Regions from separate parts of the Homo sapiens genome. Here region 2 is linked to region 1. Evidence: promoter capture Hi-C in 16 types of primary human blood cells and fetal thymus (Javierre and others, 2016). All regions are on one chromosome and are shown on one strand. Each heading gives the region's core, a stretch centred on a gene start or on the middle of the fragment in contact. The rest is flanking DNA. Distances are from core to core; before and after follow the strand shown.

Region 1 (3,308 bases), core at 583-3,082:
CACAAAAAGGAAAGTTAAATGGCCAATAAACATGAAAATATGCTCACCTTCATTATAACTGGGGGAACAACCCACAGTGAGATACCAATAGGTACCCATAGGTTAGCTAAAATCAAAATCTGACAATTCCAATTATTGGCAAGAATGCGGGGTAGCTAAAACTACATTCTGTGTACATTCTGTGGGGTAGCTTTACCCAAACTGTACAGTCACTTTGGGAAAGAATTTGGTATTATTTAGCAGATAGAAGACACACATAGCTAGCAATTTCATTTCTAGGTATACCTGAGATCAGGGCTCAGCAAACTTTAAAGGGCCAGATGTAAATGTGGTAGGCTTTGCAGGTAACATACAGCCTTTGTTGAATATTTGTTTTTAAAAAAACTATAAAAACATAAAAATCATTCTTAGCTGGGTGGCTGTACCAAGGCAAGCTATAGGCTGCATATGGCCTACATGCCAGTAGTTTGTTGATGTCTGCACTAGTTAGGGTGAAAATGTGAAGGGAATGGTGAATGATGAAGATTTGGCTCAGGTTTCAGGGTAACAGTTAAGAAAAACAAAGGCTGGATGCAGTGGCTCACGCCTGTAATCCCAGCACCTTGGGAGGCCAAGGCAGACGGATCACCTGAGGTCAGGAGTTCGAGACCAGCCTGGCCAACATGGTGAAACTCCCTGTCTTTTAAAAATACAAAAATTAGCCAGGCACGGCGGCAGCTGCCTGTAATCCCAGCTACTCGGGAGGCTGAGGCAGGAGAATCGCTTGAACCTGGGAGGTGGAGGTTGCAGTGTGCCGAGATCTCGCCACTGCACTCCAGCCTGGGTGAGAGCGAGACTCGGTCTACAAAAAAAAAAAAAAAAACAGTTCAGGGATAACAACAAAGGAAAACATGCTTTTATGAAACCAGATTTTCTCATTTCCTACAACATTACAGGCACTCGTTTAAATATTTATTGCTACCTGTTTTATATCGATAAGAGGTCATTTGGAAATGTTGATTACCTTGACATTCCATATCTCTAGACTTAAAGCTAACCTAATAAGTACAAAGCAGCCTTAGAAATTTATGTCTAGGTTTCTGGTAGTCAAATTTTTGAGGGCCTTGGCTACGATAAGATGATAAGACACAATCTCTGCTGTACAGGAGCTCTGAATGATTTTGTGTATGGGGTGGTGAAATATATAATCAAATTTAGTATGTATATATTGTACTGAGGGCAATTAAGTCACTCAATTCAGTATAAGTGCTGACTGGGCAGCCCCTGTGGGCATTTTGTCTCCGATATTAATAACAAATATCTATCAAAGACAACGCCGCCTGTAAAAACTACAAATATTTCGAAAGATTTTTGTGTTACCTATCTCATGTCATTCTTGGAAGAGCTCTGAGAGATAGGCAGTGTGGGGCCTATCTGAAAGAGAAGTAAAGTGGGACCTCTGAAAATCAAATTTGGCCGTGGTCACCTTGTAAATTGACAGTAAACCTGGGATTAAATTCAATCTCAGGCATTTCTCCTTTCTACTGAGTTAATTTAAATATAAGGTCTTTCCTTCTAGAGTGCAAAGTGAAAAGACAGCAGGAAGAGCTAACTACACTTCTACTTGCTCTCATTTACGCGCAGCGCTGCTGGTAGCTAGCGTGTCACCGCGTCGTGCTTCTCCTGACACCGGGACATTTACTTCACCCCCTCCCCCGGAATACCAGTACCTTATGCTCTCCTCCCAGCAGCCTGTGGGTGCCTCCTCCTTCCTCAGCCACGCCGGAGTTCACTGTGGCCTTTGCTCAAATTACCTGGGCGCAGCCATCTTTGGCTGACTCGTGACGCGGCGTGGGCGGGCGCCGGGTCGCGGCTGCTAATTGGACTGCGGGACGGAGGTTGCAGCCAGCAGCGGCTTTGGGCTGAGAAGCTTCCGGCCCTAGGAGGTGCCGGGAGGCTAAGCGTTGAGGTTTGTTTGCCTGGCGTAGAGTGTGCTCGTTTCACCTACTCTTGCCTCCCAGGACAGAACTTGTAGAAATTGTGAAATTTCGAGATATAAGTTGGGTGACCCTCAGTCAGCCTCTTCCATTGAAAACGTACCTCGGGCATATTACTTAACTTCCTGGTCAGTAGAGCCTACTTACGTTCTTGGCATGGGGTAAATGAAAACTGCACAGCTCTTGGCATATGATAGCTACTCAGGTTAAAAATAAGTCAAAGGTGAGCTATTTCTTGGCTCTATCGATTTTCTACTCTCCCTAGGAACTTAAGCTCCCTGTGCCATGTTTTGATCTGTATTGATTGCCCTACCATAATCAGCACCTCAGAGCTGCAGCTTATTTTTCTGAGGATTTCTCGTGTTCTCCAGAGTACTGCTTATTTGGAAGCAGTGTTGGGTGAAAGTCATCTTATTTCTTCTTGCTTTTTAAGTATAAATACTAGAAAATTTAGAATTATATATGTGGCTTGCATTATATTTCTATTGGACAGTGCTGTTCAGAAGGTACCTCTAATGCTCTCCTCCCAGCAGCCAGTGGATGCCTCACCAGGTCTTCCTCAGCCATGCTGGGGCTCCCTGCAACCTTTGCTCAGTTCGCTTGGACTAATTAACCCAATAGAAGGGAAAAATGCCTACAATTGAATTTTATCTTAACTCCATTAAGATTAGCAGGTAAACATTGTGCCAAAAAATATATAACTAACTGTAGCAATAAATACATGATCATAACACATTATCAGAAATCTTAATTATTCTCATCCTCTCAAATTTCTGAACAAGTGATAAAGTGTTGCATTGTCCAGATAATTTTTATACTGTCTCTCCATTGCAGGGTTGCTTGACCATTAGGCTCCATAGTGCCAAGAAGTCTGTAATTGCAGTTTCTAAACTTGCACAAATAGAAAGACTTATTTTCACGAAGGTGTACAAGAAGGAAAATTCCTAGTCTTTTTTTTATTTTTATTTTTTATTTTTTAGACAGAGTTTTGCTCTCGTCGGCCAGGCTGGAGTGCAATGGCCTGATCTCAGCTCATTGCAACTTCTGCCTTCCAGGTTCAAGCGATTCTCCTGCTTCAGCCTCCAGAGTAGCTGGGATTACAGGCGTGTGCCACCACGCCCAGCTGATCAGCTGATTTTTTTTTTTGTTTTTGAGACTGAGTCTCGTTCTGTCACCCAGGCTGGAGTGTAGTGGTGTGATTTCGGCTCACTGCAAGCCCCGCCTCCTGGGTTCACAGCATTCTCCTGCCTCAGCCTCCCAAGTAGCTGGGACTACAGGCTCCTGCCACCACGCCTGGCTAATTTTTTTGTATTTCTAGTAGAGACGGGGTTT
Region 2 (3,424 bases), core at 383-2,882, 8.1 Mb before region 1:
TCCTCCCTCAGCCTCCCCAGTAGCTGGGACCACAGACGTGCACCACCACGCCCAGCTAATTTTTTTAATTTGTAGAGGCAGGAGCTCCCTATGTTGCTCAGGCTGGTCTTGAAGTCTGGGCTCAAGTGATCCTTCCACCTTGGCCTCCAAAAATGTTGGAACTACAGGTGTGAGCCACCATGCCTGTCCTGTTATTTCCGAAATTAAGAAGATCTATCCGACTCCCAGAATAATACAACTATTCTTTCATTATTTCTTCTAACACTTTGTTTTACTTTCTTCATTTGGCACTTCAATCCTCAAAAATTACTGTGGAAATAATTTTTGTGTGAGGTATAAAGTAGTATTTACCTTTTTTTGCAAATAGACCCCTAATAATCCTAACAGCACTGCCCTGAAATGACATCTTTAAATTCCCATTTACACTGGGTGTGCTGCATAACTAAATTAAGAATTTTGATTTTTTTTTCAAAAATCCTTGACAATAATGAGAATCTGAAACCCACTCATTATTTCTTCACTTCCCTCCTAGTCTCCTCCCTTCCAGTTTTGCTTTCCCTATAATTCATTTATTAGAAAGCATCTAGAGTAAACTTTAACAAAACCATCTCTACTTATCCTGCAAAAGCTTTCAGTGGTCTTAACACTAGTCAAACGCTTATCCCGGCCTACTGGGTTCTACATGATCTGGACCCGCCTACCTCTTGGACCTCGTCACACATTTCAGTCAAAACAGACCTCTTTTCTGCAGGTGCTACTATCATCATTCACACCGCACAAGGATGCAAAGTAACTCGCCCAAGGTCACACAGCCGGCAAGGGGCAGAGCCCCGATCTAGGGCTCTTTTAGCCACTAAGTGTGCTACATTAAAGGCCCTCTACAGAGAAGCATTCATTTAAACATTTCACGGTTTGACAGTGTCTCTAAACGCTGCCATTCAAGGAGACCCGCAGGAGTATTACGTAAAGTCGTGTCCTACCTTGTCCGGCAGCAACAAAAAGATGACGACCAAGTATCCTTACGCTTCCGCTAGAGGGACACTCAAAAGTTCTCGCACGCACAAGATCACCCCCATCGCGGGAGAGGCGGAGGCCCGCGCGGGTGCTGGGACCCAGACCGGGGGACTCGGGCAGCGGATGCAGGCCTTACCTTCCTCGTCGTCCTGGTCTGCGCTGGACCCGGCGCCCGGCCACTCCTGCGCGTCGCCCTCGGTCCCCGCCGCCTCCTCCTCCTCGGAGCCCGAACCCTGGCTGAAGTCTATCCGCTGGGCCAGACGCGCCAGATTCTGCGACATGGACAGCGGGGGCAGGTACGTCTCGGTGCCATCCAGGCCCACCTCATGGACCTGCTTCTCGCAGGCCGATTCGATGCTGATCCGCACTGCGCGCACCCCGGACATGCTGGCTGCGTCGGCCAGCGGTGGGAGGACCCCCCACGAGCCAAAAAACGAGGTACGAAGAGGAGGCTTCCCTGCGGAGAGCCGGGAACTCAGAAGCCCGCAGCCGCGGTGCCTCAGAAGACCCTCGGGAAACCGAACGCAACGCTCAGACTGGAAACAAAGGAGCTGGCCCAGCAACTTTCCCAGAACGCACCGCAAGCTCCCTCCTCGGTAAGTCTTTCGGAGCAAAACTGGGCAGGCGCGGAAGCTCCAGGGTTCCCTAGAGCGCTTCCGGTGAATCACGGTGCAGGGTGGGGTAAACTTCCGGGCCTATAAGAGGCGTGGCCGGCAGAGGGAGGGAAAGAGCGGTTTGGGAGCCGAGAGTGTGGCGGGTATATTCCTTGCTTTTTAAGCCTGCGTTTGTTTAAAAAGTGGATGAGGAAAGAAAGCTGCAGAGGCTAGAAGAGTTAAGGAAAAGGAAATTAATGGATCCTTGGATCTTAGCAATGAGAGTCCTGTTGAGAGAACTGAGATCTGGTGGCGCGCGCCTGTGGTCCAGCTACGCGGGTGGCTGAGGCGGGAGAATGGCTTGAGCCCTGGAGATGGAGGCTGCAGTGAGCCGAGATCTCACCGCTGCATTCCAGCCTAAGCAACAGAGTGGGATCCTGCCTCAAAACAAAAGTTATTTTAAATTAGCAAGAAATTTTTTAAAGAAACACTATCTGAAGAGTTAGAAATTAAGGGCATGGCTTGGGGGAAACAATCGTGCTTATCACCACTTAAAATTATACTACGTAATTATTTGGTTTCCTGTTAGTTATAACTCTATGACAGCCAATATCTGCAGCAGACATAATAGACTCTGGCATGTAGTAAGTGCTTAATATTTATTTTATGCCCGAGTAACAGAATAAATAATGTTGATCTCGCTTTTTTATTAGTGATGGGGTCCCACTATGTTGCCCAGGCTGAGTGCAGAGGTTATTCACAAGTGCTGTCAGCACGCTACAGCCTGGAGCTCCTGGGCTCCAACGATGCTCCTGCCTTAGCCTCCTGAGGAGCTGGGACTATAGGAGCGTGTCACCATGCCTGGCCTGCAAATAATATTTAAAAGATTAAGAAGAAGTGGTATAACTTCAGTCTTTGGGTCTCCAAGAACGTATTTCATTAGTAGGAATTCCACAGACAAAGATGGATTATTTTATATTACAAACCTCTATATTTCGTTTAAGGAATTATATATACCGTTTATCATGAGTGTTTGCCAGGTTTTGTTCTGACCAAGATATATCTAGGTTTTGAACTACTTTCCTAAGGTATTTAGGAAAATACGGTTGCCCTGGTGTCAGTCCCTGCTGAAGAAGAAAGTAGATGGCCGTGTGTGGAGGGGGTTGAATTTTCATGAGAGAAACCTATTTCTGGCAAGCTGTACAGTCTGTCGCCCAATCATGTTCGAGAACCACTGTACTTGCTTTTCGTGTAAATTTGTTTAAAAATTTTTTTTAACTTTATTTTAAAATCTGATTAATAGCCAGGCGCAGTGGCAGTCTAATAGTGCAGACAAAAACAAGACAACAACAAATGATTATGATTCCTAGAATAAGCAAAGCTTTTGCCACCAAGTCTTCAAGATCAAAACTAGCTGCTTAGCCAGTTGTTTAAAGATGTGTTGGATCTGAAAGGTTAGTTGTTAAGGTTTTCATATTATCCATTAACGTAGTGATATTATCTGATTCATCTGGGATACAGACATAACACACAGTTTTTATGATAATGCAAGTTCCTCCCTGGGCTTCGGTGAGTATGTCAAAAGCCATACGGTTTTGTAATAATGGCCTTTTCCATAAGAATAACTATTGTTTAATAATGGAATACTTATGTAGCTATCTTTTGGGTATAATTGGTTAGGACCTCTATATGCCAAATAACATCTTCAACACTCAGTTGTGGTATGAAGATGGAAGCTAAGTGATCATACCAATGAAACACAGGATGAACCCAATGAGATCATAAATAAGGAAAATTTGCAGGTTTTGGCAAAGTAC

The links. Contacts are between HindIII fragments. The CHiCAGO score rates a contact against its expected background, and 5 or more counts as called.
Region 2: the fragment with the promoter of MED17 here is called in contact with the fragment with the promoter of TMEM126A in region 1 in 4 of 17 cell types (total CD8 T cells, naive CD4 T cells, non-activated CD4 T cells and 1 more); the score reaches 7.3 in total CD8 T cells.

What each region holds. Positions count from the first base shown.
Region 1 is chr11:85,646,491-85,649,798 of GRCh38, reverse strand. It overlaps TMEM126A (transmembrane protein 126A), which reads right to left and starts at 1,832. Exons shown (of 5, transcript NM_032273.4): 1 at 1,710-1,832. RefSeq lists enhancers at 1,582-1,851, 2,022-2,071. The HindIII fragment of the contact is 2,186 bases long and covers 1-1,911 here.
Region 2 is chr11:93,782,490-93,785,913 of GRCh38, reverse strand. It overlaps MED17 (mediator complex subunit 17), which reads right to left and starts at 1,632. Exons shown (of 12, transcript NM_004268.5): 1 at 1,151-1,632. The coding sequence starts at 1,400. RefSeq lists silencers at 900-1,094, 1,096-1,225 and enhancers at 1,356-1,575, 1,517-1,811. The HindIII fragment of the contact is 2,360 bases long and covers 631-2,990 here.